Regions from separate parts of the Homo sapiens genome. Here regions 1 and 3 are each linked to region 2. The links are contacts of gene promoters, found by promoter capture Hi-C in blood cells and fetal thymus (Javierre and others, 2016). All regions are on one chromosome and are shown on one strand. The core of a region is centred on a gene start or on the middle of the fragment in contact, and the rest is flanking DNA. Distances in the headings are between cores, read along the strand shown. Region 1 holds the start of MAP3K10 (mitogen-activated protein kinase kinase kinase 10). Region 2 holds the start of CD79A (CD79a molecule). Region 3 overlaps LTBP4 (latent transforming growth factor beta binding protein 4).

What was found. The method cuts DNA at HindIII sites, captures the fragments that hold promoters and counts their contacts. A CHiCAGO score of 5 or more calls a contact.
Region 1: a contact is called between a fragment that was not itself captured here and the fragment with the promoter of CD79A in region 2, in 1 of 17 cell types (total B cells). The highest score is 5.5, in total B cells.
Region 3: a fragment that was not itself captured here is called in contact with the fragment with the promoter of CD79A in region 2 in 1 of 17 cell types (non-activated CD4 T cells); the score reaches 5.3 in non-activated CD4 T cells.

Annotation. Positions count from the first base shown.
Region 1 is chr19:40,189,666-40,193,091 of GRCh38, forward strand. MAP3K10 (mitogen-activated protein kinase kinase kinase 10) reads left to right here and starts at 1,761. Exons shown (of 10, transcript NM_002446.4): 1 at 1,761-3,048. The coding sequence starts at 2,367. RefSeq lists an enhancer at 989-1,228 and silencers at 1,389-1,888, 2,159-2,458. The HindIII fragment of the contact is 3,270 bases long and covers 456-3,426 here.
Region 2 is chr19:41,875,598-41,879,292 of GRCh38, forward strand. It overlaps CD79A (CD79a molecule), which reads left to right and starts at 1,682. Exons shown (of 5, transcript NM_001783.4): 1 at 1,682-1,786; 2 at 3,393-3,692. The coding sequence starts at 1,708. RefSeq lists an enhancer at 347-416 and a silencer at 1,824-1,883. The HindIII fragment of the contact is 1,040 bases long and covers 1,118-2,157 here.
Region 3 is chr19:40,611,909-40,615,447 of GRCh38, forward strand. It overlaps LTBP4 (latent transforming growth factor beta binding protein 4), which reads left to right. Exons shown (of 30, transcript NM_001042545.2): 14 at 1-76; 15 at 165-284; 16 at 1,157-1,288; 17 at 1,496-1,621; 18 at 2,008-2,130; 19 at 2,407-2,538. Among named protein-coding and RNA genes, the nearest start is that of LTBP4, 12 kb to the left of the region's middle. RefSeq lists enhancers at 1,997-2,544, 2,766-3,045. The HindIII fragment of the contact is 5,733 bases long and covers 1-3,539 here.

The DNA.
Region 1 (3,426 bases), core at 841-3,340, 1.7 Mb before region 2:
TCCAGTAATTCTCCCTCCTCGGCCTCTGAAAGTGCTGGGATTACAGGCATGAGCCACCGTGCCCAGCTAGTTGCATATATTTTGAGCAATCTGTCTCTAACTCTATTTTTTCCATGAAGTCTTGTTAATTTTAGTGCACCGTTTTGAAGAACTGAAGGTTTTTTAAGAATGCATATAGCAGGTTATAGCAGAAACACTTATACTCAGAATGAAGCTGGGGCTCTCTCTTCCAACAAGCATTTTTGATATGCTCCGAGTGTCCCTGCTAGGTAGCCAGGAGACCAGGTAACCCACTTCCCTCTGACAATGGAACAATTCCCCAAGGACCCTGAGGGGCAGTTCTCTGGAGTTTGGGCACTAGAGTCCCTCTTATTTCCTCTTCTTCTCTCCTCCCTCTAGACCCCATACCACTCAGGAGAGGCCAAGTAAAAAGACCCAGAATTTTGCCTCTTACAAGCTTAGAGATCTTGAAGAAGTCACTGAACCTCTGCGGGACCTACTTTCCTCATTCTTTAAATAGAAAGGCAGTGGGTTTTTTGTTTGTTTGTTTTTTGTTGTTTTTTTTTTTGTTGTTGTTGTTTTTGTTAATCGTGGCGATGGTTATTTATTTATTTATTTATTTTGAGACGGAGTCTTGCCCTGTCGTCCAGGCTGGAGTGCTGTGGCGTGATCTTGGCTCACTGCAACCTCCACCTCCCAGGTTCAAGCGATTCTCCTGCCTCAGCCTCCCGAGTAGCTGGGATAGATTACAGGCGCACACCACCACGCCCGGCTAATTTTTTTTTTTTTTTTTAAATAGTAGAGACGGGGGTTTCACCATGCTGGCCAGGCTGGTCACGAACTCCTGGCCTCGTGATCCGCCCGCCTTGGCCTCCCATAGCGCTGAGATTACAGGCGTGAGCCACCGCGCCCGGCCTGGTTGTTAATTTTTAAAACTGCCTTTCATTTTTGCTTTGCCATTTATAGCTCTGTAGCCTTGCACAAATGACTTCACTTCTCTATGAGTCATCTGTAAAATGGGGCTCTTTGTGAAGACTTAACGATACCACGTGTACAAAGCACTGAATACAACATGCACATTAAGCTCCCCGAAATTGAAACTCCTATAAAATAGGAATCGGGGATTCTCAAGAGCAGGAGTTCTGACTTCAGCAGAGGAACCCAGAGCTGGTGGGGAAAGCAGACGTGGCTGTGACATCCCCAGGGACACTAAACACATCCTCCCAGCCCCATCTTCCCCGCAGAGTCCCGCCACCGGCCCGACCCCTAACTTGCTCCAACCACCCGCCGACGCCCGCAGCCCGCTGTTTGGGGGCCGCCCCCTGCAGCGCCAGGTCCCCGCGCGGACTACAGTTCCCAGCGTACATCTCGGTCGGGGGGTCCGAGGGGCCGTCCTGCCTCAGGGATAAGGTCCAGGCTGCGTTCGCGGCTCCGGGCAGTCACAGTCATGCACGCAGCTCCTATTTTTCGCGTTGCTAATCGCGTCCGTTGCAGTCCAACCCATCCTGGGCCGCGGCCCCCACAGGGTCTGTGAGGAGCGCTTCCCCCCGCCCCGGGCGCCCGCTACGCCGCGTCCGAAGGAGGGGCCGAGGCCGGGCTCATCTCCCCGGGAGGACTCCTTCGGCTTCGTGGGGTGTCATGTCCATTGCGGCCCGAGGCTGGCCGCGGGGCTCTGCTGGAGGGCGCTGAGAGCCGGGCCCCGAGGCCGCACGGCCGGAGACTACAACTCCCAGGAGGCACCGCGGCGGCGGCGCCCACACGTCACTCGGGCCCCGCCGGTGGCCCGGGGAAGCAGCACGGGCGGGGGGCAGGGGCTGGGGCCGACCGGGAGGCCGGTGCCAAGGATGGGGGCCGCCCGGCTGCCCCGCGCGTGAGGAGGCCGAGGGGCGCGCCACCCCGGCCCGGGGCGGCCGCCCCAGGGGCCCCGCCACCCCCGCCCGGCCCGGCAGTCGTGGCCCGGGATGCGGAGCCGGGGGCCGCCGGTGGAGCTGCGCGGGGTGAGCGGCGCGGGGAACGGGGACTGCCTGCCGCCCTCGCCCTCGTCCCCCACCGGCGGACCCCGGCGGGCATTCGAGAGCCGCGCGGCCAGGCCCTCTTAGCCCTCTGCCGTTTGGGGGGCACGGGTGAACCTGCCGCCCCACTCCCACCCCGCCCCGCCCCGCCCGTACAGCCAAATCGGAAGGGACGAGCCTGCCCTTTGAAAGGGTTTTTTTTCTTGCTCCTGCGGAGGGCGCCCCAGCCATGGCCCTCAGGAGCTCCCTAGACCCCGCAGGGACTGCCCTCCATCCCGGCCGCCGGGGCCCGCCCTCTGCATCCCGCGGGCAGCCTGTGTGAAGCGGCCTCCCGCAGCCCCCGGCCCCTCCCCCATGGAGGAGGAGGAGGGGGCGGTGGCCAAGGAGTGGGGCACGACCCCCGCGGGGCCCGTCTGGACCGCGGTGTTCGACTACGAGGCGGCGGGCGACGAGGAGCTGACCCTGCGGAGGGGCGATCGCGTCCAGGTGCTTTCCCAAGACTGTGCGGTGTCCGGCGACGAGGGCTGGTGGACCGGGCAGCTCCCCAGCGGCCGCGTGGGCGTCTTCCCCAGCAACTACGTGGCCCCCGGCGCCCCCGCTGCACCCGCGGGCCTCCAGCTGCCCCAGGAGATCCCCTTCCACGAGCTGCAGCTAGAGGAGATCATCGGTGTGGGGGGCTTTGGCAAGGTCTATCGGGCCCTGTGGCGTGGCGAGGAGGTGGCAGTCAAGGCCGCCCGGCTGGACCCTGAGAAGGACCCGGCAGTGACAGCGGAGCAGGTGTGCCAGGAAGCCCGGCTCTTTGGAGCCCTGCAGCACCCCAACATAATTGCCCTTAGGGGCGCCTGCCTCAACCCCCCACACCTCTGCCTAGTGATGGAGTATGCCCGGGGTGGTGCACTGAGCAGGGTGCTGGCAGGTCGCCGGGTGCCACCTCACGTGCTGGTCAACTGGGCTGTGCAGGTGGCCCGGGGCATGAACTACCTACACAATGATGCCCCTGTGCCCATCATCCACCGGGACCTCAAGTCCATCAACAGTAAGTGGTGTCCTCTCCCCAAAATTCCTTCCACAGAACCTCTCAAGGCCAGGCCTAGGTGGTGGGAAACAGGGTGAGGGACACCAGATGACACTGTGCCTGGAGTGAGAAGGGGCAGCAGTATGATACCTTCAGGGTGAAGGTGAGGTAGGCCTTGCCTGCCTTAAGGGAGAAAAAGGAGGCTCAGAAAGGTTGAAGGACTTACCTGCCTCCCAGGCTGCAGAGTCACAATCGCTCAGTAAACATGTATCCATGAACACCTGCGTTCCCTGCATGAACAGGACAGATGCAGTGCCTGCCTTCAAGGTGCTTGCCATCCAGCCATGCTGCCAGAGTCCACCAGGCAGAGACAAAAAGAGCCTACCCCGTCTGGAGTCA
Region 2 (3,695 bases), core at 432-2,931:
GGTCTACACCTCTGCTACAAACGTGTGTCCCTAAGCAGCGGACGCCTTTTGAAAACAAGTCAACTGTATCATGCTACGATATTTTTTCTGATGTTTGTGCTGTTTCTGAGACAGCCTTATGACACCTTCCCCTATTCTGTAGCATTCTGTTGGCTCACTTTGCCACAGTGTATGCACCCATTCTCCCACAAATGGACTTTTCATTTGCTTCTCAATGTTTGCTACCAAAAATCTCCCTGCAATAAATTTATTTTATATATCCCCTTGTATGTGTGTGAGGGTCCCCTAACTGCTCACAAATATCTCAGCAACTCCGCCCTCCCCACTCAGACCTCATTTCCCTCCTACCAGACATGCTCAAAGGAAACTGGGAGCAACACAAAGATGACTTTGAATCTCTGTCCACCACCCCTAGACTGTATGACACCCGCAAGTGACAACCTCCCCTCTCTGGCCTCGGTTTCCCCCTCTGTAAAATGGGGGATGGCCTACCTTGCCAGTCATGGCAGGTCAATATAAAACAACTTCTGGCTGTGCACAGTGGCACATGCCTGTAATCCCAGCACTTTGGGAAGCTGAGGCAGGAGGATTGCTTGAGGCCAGGAGTTCAAGACCAGCCTGGGCAATATAGCAAGATCCCATCCCTCTTAAAAAAAAAAAAGAAGAAAAATATATGTTGTTGTTGTTATTATTGTTATTATTAGAGACAGAGTTTCGCTTTTGTCACCCAGGCTGGAGTGCAATGGTGTGATCTCAGCTCACTGCAACCTCCACCTCCTGGGTTCAACTGATTCTCCTGCCTCAGCCTCCTGAGTAGCTGGAATAATAGGCATGTGCCACAACATCTGGCTAATTTTGTATTTTTAGTAGAGATGGGGTTTCGCCATGTTGGCCAGGCTGGTCTCAAACTCGACCTCAGGTGATTCTCCTGTCTCAGCCTCCCAAAGGGCTGGGATTACAGGCATAAGCCACCATAGCTGGCCTGTTTTTTTAAAAAAAGAATTCCAGTAAAGAGCTGATCATGGTTCTCACTCCTTGAATACCAGGAACACCATCTCGTATCACATAATGAGACAGGGAGACATTCTGGTCCTCATCTCACAGATGAAAAATGTCAAGCTTCGAAGGATCAAAGTGCCCACCTAGTCACACGGGTAGTCAGCCACAGGTCAGCCTGCCTTATTTATTCTTCATGAGTATTTATAGTGACTAACATTTACTGGGCGCCTACTGTGGGCCATTTCTGTGCATGTGACAACCCCTTTAAGTCCTTGTTTCTAATCCCAAGAAGCAAGGAAATGGGGTCAGGGAAGGGACAAGGTTTGCCCAAGTCCAGGCAGGGGGAGAGGTCAAGCTCAGAACCATCACCTGCCCATGACACATGCCCAGGACTCAGGTTCCCTAGGCTTCCTTCCAAAGGCTCAGCAGTGACGAGCCAGCCCTTGAACCAGCCTCTTCCCCCACCCAAGCAGCCACCTCTCAGGGGAATTGTGGCCACCACAGGTGCAGGGAGCAGTTTCTCTCCACTCACAGCCTGAAGCATACCCGGCAGGGGCTGTCCCCAGGCCCAACAAGCAAAGGGCCCAGTAGCGAGGGCCACTGGAGCCCATCTCCGGGGGGCTGGGCAGGAAGTAGGGTGGGGTTTGGGGTAGGGATCTGGTACCCTGGGACTGCTGCAACTCAAACTAACCAACCCACTGGGAGAAGATGCCTGGGGGTCCAGGAGTCCTCCAAGCTCTGCCTGCCACCATCTTCCTCCTCTTCCTGCTGTCTGCTGTCTACCTGGGTATGTGGCCAAAGGGCAGGAACTGGCGGGAGGTGGGGGAAGCTGTGGAGGCTGCAGAGAGGGCACAGGCAGAGGGAAGGGGGCTCAGGGAAAGGGGAAGAGGAGGCAGAGGATAGGGGACCCAGGGAAGATGCCTATAGAAATCGTATCTGTGCCAAGATGGGCCAAGGTGGGGCTGGAGGGAGCCCAGCGAAGGAGAAGGGGCGTCCACAGTCTCACACAGGGAGGCAGGAGCAAGAGTCACCTCCCCCACCTCCTGTTCCCCACAGGCCAAAATAAGGAACTAAAGTTGCTCTTGACTGAGCACCAGGGCTGGGGGCAGGAAGGGGACTTAGGGGTAGCAGCATTCAGCGTCTGTCAAGGGGAGAAAAAGCTTTCTCTGCCTTAAACCTCAGGTGCCTCTCTCTGTTGGGAGTCCCTTCTCAGCACTGGGGGAATGGGTGTCTCATGGACTCCCCCTCACCTGCTCAAGGACAGCTGGCAGGGGCTGTGGCCACGCTAACCCAGGAGTTCAGAGAAAAAGGTTCCCCACCCAAGGGGACACTGGGAGCAAGGATTGGAGTTCACGTCTGAGTCTTAAGCCCGTGACGATGAGGGTGCTCGGCCCCTCTCCCCATCTCTTCCTCCTTCTCTCTTCCTCACCTCCCTCCTCCACCTACCTCCAGAAGAGGGGACTGGCCATGTGGGAGGCCTGGCTGAGAGCTGGGGCTTCCCAGAGGAGCCCGGATTGGACACTGCAGCCAGCCTGAGCCGCCTCGTCTCACTCAGAGACACCCCCAGTCTCCACCCCGCTCTGAGCCCCTTCAATCACCAGCAGCCCAGCCCAAGGACTGAACTCACCCCTGACCCCTAGGTTGACACATACAACTTACAGAGAATGAGGGCCAGGCACAGGGTCACAGGCCAGGGCAGGCCACAGACTGGCTCCTCAGCCCAGGCAGGGAGAGGCCAGGGAGCCAAGAGTTTGAACCCAGTGCCACTCCTGACTGCCTGGTGATGCTGGCAACCCGCCTGCCCTCCCAGAGCCTCAGCCATCCCTCCTGTAAAATGGGGCTAAGGAGAGAACCTACTTCTAGGGTTCTGTGAATGATTACACAAGAAAAAGCGCCAGGTGCTGGGCCTGGCTGAGGCTGGGGTGCAAAAATGGACCGGGAAGGCTGCGGGAGGAGGGGACGCCTGCACTGCTTCTGGAAGGAGCTGTCTGGACAGCGGTCCTCCAGTGCCTGGAACAAACATCCAAAATCCAGAGAGTTCACAGGGCCAGAGTACAAAGTGGGTATGCGGGAGGGGGGCAAGAGATGGCGCTGCAGAGGTGAGAAGGGCCTCCCAGGGGTCTTACCATCCCAGGGAGTCTCATTCTCCTCTCCCAGGATATCCTCACCCACCCCAACCAGGTATGTCCTCTCTCCTTCCCAGGGGCTTCTTCACTTTCCCGCATCCCCCCTCTCCCCAGGATGTATCAGCCCCTGTCAGGGGCTCTCTCTCTCCCTCCCCACCCAGGAGAGTCCTCACCCTCTTCCCAGGAGTGCTGGAACTGCAGGGGCCAGGGCTGGGGAAATGTGTCACCATCCCCAGTCCCTGACCCACCCACCCTGTCTCTCCACAGGCCCTGGGTGCCAGGCCCTGTGGATGCACAAGGTCCCAGCATCATTGATGGTGAGCCTGGGGGAAGACGCCCACTTCCAATGCCCGCACAATAGCAGCAACAACGCCAACGTCACCTGGTGGCGCGTCCTCCATGGCAACTACACGTGGCCCCCTGAGTTCTTGGGCCCGGGCGAGGACCCCAATGGTACGCTGATCATCCAGAATGTGAACAAGAGCCATGGGGGCATATACGTGTGCCGGGTCCAGGAGGGCAACGAGTCATACCAGCAGTCCTGCGGCACCTACCTCCGCGTGCGCCGTG
Region 3 (3,539 bases), core at 141-2,640, 1.3 Mb before region 2:
GAGAACACAGAAGGCAGCTTCCAGTGTGTCTGCCCCATGGGCTTCCAACCCAACACTGCTGGCTCCGAGTGCGAGGGTGAGGCCGGGGAGGGAGGGAGGAGTGTGGATGGGTGAGGGGGGAGTTGGACCACTTCTTCAAGGCCACCCTCTCCCCTGCCCCCCAGATGTGGATGAGTGTGAGAACCACCTCGCATGCCCTGGGCAGGAGTGTGTGAACTCGCCCGGCTCCTTCCAGTGCAGGACCTGTCCTTCTGGCCACCACCTGCACCGTGGCAGATGCACTGGTGAGACCAGGCCCTGGCTGTGACCTTGGGCCTGCATCATGACCCCCGACCCTTGACCCAGATCACAACTATGACCTGGCCGTAACCTCCTGACCTGGACCTCAGTCCCTCAGTCCCCAGAGCCTGTGACTCCTGACCCTGACCTGGACCACAACTCTTGACCCTGAATGTGACTCCTGAGACCCAACTTGACAGTAACATTTGACCCTAACCATCACCCTTGATGATAGTCCCTGCCCATACCCTGATAGCAATTGTGACCCTCATGACTCTGGCCCTGAATGTGACCTATAACTCCTGAATTTGACTGTGACATTTGACCCTAATCATAACCACTAACCATAGCACTGACCATAACCTTGACTGTGTGACTCTTGGTCCTATCTCTTTCACAGCCCCTGCCTCTTCTCAGAATCCCTTCTCTGGAACCTGGTTGGGTTCATAATCCCTGACCCTGGCCCCTGACTTGAGGCAGAATTCTGGACCCTGACTATAACTTCTGATCCTAACTGGATTCAGATTCCAGTCACTAACTCTGACCCATGGCTCAGCCGAATCCCATCCAATGATCCTAGTTTATAATACTTGACTGGTCCCTTGCCCTAGTTGATTTCTGATCCCTGTCTGATCCCTCTCCTGACTCCAAAATCCTGGCACAGGTAGTTCCTAGAAACCTAGACCCACAGGACTTGCAACCATGGTCCCCGGAACCCGAGAACCTTGGTCAGCCCTACCCACCTCTGCCATAGAGCCCTCCCCCAGCCTCCAACTCATGAGACTTCCCACCACCTCCCCCAGACACCCTACTCCAAGGGGATTGGTCGGGTGTGTCCCGAGACTGGACCCTTTCTGAACACCCCCACCCCCCACAGATGTGGACGAATGCAGTTCGGGTGCCCCTCCCTGTGGTCCCCACGGCCACTGCACTAACACCGAAGGCTCCTTCCGCTGCAGCTGCGCGCCAGGCTACCGGGCGCCGTCGGGTCGGCCCGGGCCCTGCGCAGGTGAGCAGCATAGGGACCCGCCAGAGAGTCTGGGAGTAGGGCCTGGGTTCCAGGGCAAAGCCGGCTGGAAAGGTGGAGGCGGGACCAAGGCGCTGTGGGAGGAGCTTAGAAACCTGGCATTGGTGGGGGCGGGGTTACTGCGATGTGGGCGGAGCTTGTCTGGGAGGCCGGGTCCCGTGACTCCGCCCAATCTCCCGCGTACCCTAGACGTGAACGAGTGCCTGGAGGGCGATTTCTGCTTCCCTCACGGCGAGTGCCTCAACACTGACGGCTCCTTTGCCTGTACTTGTGCCCCTGGCTACCGACCCGGACCCCGCGGAGCCTCTTGCCTCGGTTCGTACCCGGGCTGATCCTGGCCCCGGAAAGGGTGGGCTTAGGGCAGGAAAAGGCGGGACGGGGAGAAGAGGGCGAAAAGGGGAAAACGAGTTTTTAGCCGGGGTATTCCAGCAGGATCAGGGGGCAGCTGGTGGGAGTCTCGAGGCAGTGAGGGGGGGCGGGGCGTGGAGATGAAAGGGCCGAGTCTGGGTATTTGGACCGTGATTGTAAAGAAGCTGTTCTAAACCCGTCGGGGGGCGGTGTTTGCAGGGAGGGAAGTAGCGTGAGGCAGGTTGGGGAAGGCGTGAGAGGCCTAGGAGAGCCGAGGGGCGGTGGAGGGGTGTGGCCTAGAATGTTAGGCGGAGCGGGAGGTGGGCCGGGCCTTCGGACGCCCTGTCCCGCAGACGTTGACGAGTGCAGCGAGGAGGACCTTTGCCAGAGCGGCATCTGTACCAACACCGACGGCTCCTTCGAGTGCATCTGTCCTCCGGGACACCGCGCTGGCCCGGACCTCGCCTCCTGCCTCGGTGAGAGGCCCCGCCCCGGCCTGATCCCTCCTCCCTTCGACTCCCCGACTCGCCGATTGGCCTCCCACCTCTGTCTTTCCTCCTCCGCTTCTCCCCTCCCCTTACCTCTTTCCCCCGCCTCCTCTCCTAGCCTCCCCAACTCTCCTCTACCCCAATCTTCTCCTGCCCTCTCCTCTGCTTCCCCGGCCTCCCCCTTCTGACTCTCCTCTCCCCTCTTTGTATCCCCCATCTTGCCTCCCTGCTTCCCACATCCGACCACCCGACCTCTCTCCTCAGACGTGGACGAATGTCGCGAGCGAGGCCCAGCCCTGTGCGGGTCGCAGCGCTGTGAGAACTCTCCCGGCTCCTACCGCTGTGTCCGGGACTGCGATCCTGGGTACCACGCGGGCCCCGAGGGCACCTGTGACGGTGAGCCTGCCCCCACCCGCCTTCGCTAGCGCTTGCAACGCGGTGCTGGAGGCTGCTCCCTTGGGGACTGAGGAGGGGCGCCCTGCTTCCCAGACTTAGGCGGAGGGAAAGAACACCCTCTCACCGTATCTCTGTAGTGGAAATAAGCCGCCACCGTGTCCATGTATTTTCTTGTGTCAGGATCACGGCCAAGCCTCCCTTCCAGCCGCAGTCCATTCCCCCTCTGCAGCTGAAGCCCGGTCCACATTTTAGGCTATGCCCCCAGTAAGACACCGCCCCAAAACTGTTAGGCCCCGCCCCTTCCAATCGGCCTCTGGATTAAAACCCCCTCTTCAGGCCCCTTCTCTTCCTAACAGAAGTTTGGACGTGCCCTTTCCGCGCCCTCCACCAGTCCTACTTCCAGCCTTCCCTCCAAAGAGGCCCAATCCCGGTGGCCCTAGGCCCCATTCTTTCCCAATGAGAAATTCCCAAGGTGAAATTCTCCTAGCATTGGCCCCCGCCCGTTTAAGCTCTGCCCTTCCTTGGTCTCTCTAGACAGGGCTTTCCATTCGCTCGGATGGCTCCAGTCTCTCGAACACTTAGGCCCTCCCTTCCTATCTTTGCTCCGCCCACAGACCCGCCCCTTGCCTTTTCTTACTTTCCAGGCCTTCCCTCCCGCCCCGCTCTTTCACCCCTCCCGGGTCAGGCTCCAGCGAGGCAGGAGGGTGGGGCTAATCTTCCATACAGTATATATTTTTTTGTGTCGGCGGGGGGGGGGGGGCGGTGATGGTGTGTGAGTCCGCATCTTGTGGAACACATGAAACAAAACATCTGTGGGCTGCCGTTGACTCTGCTAGACCTCTGACTCATGGAAATCTAGCTTCATAAGATCTCATTCATTAATTCCACAAGAATTCACTAAGCACCTACTCTATGCCAGCGTCTGGAAAAGGTAATAAGAGCAACAGGAAATAAGTCATATAAAAACCCCTGCCTTCCTGGAGTTATTGTGGGGTAATAAA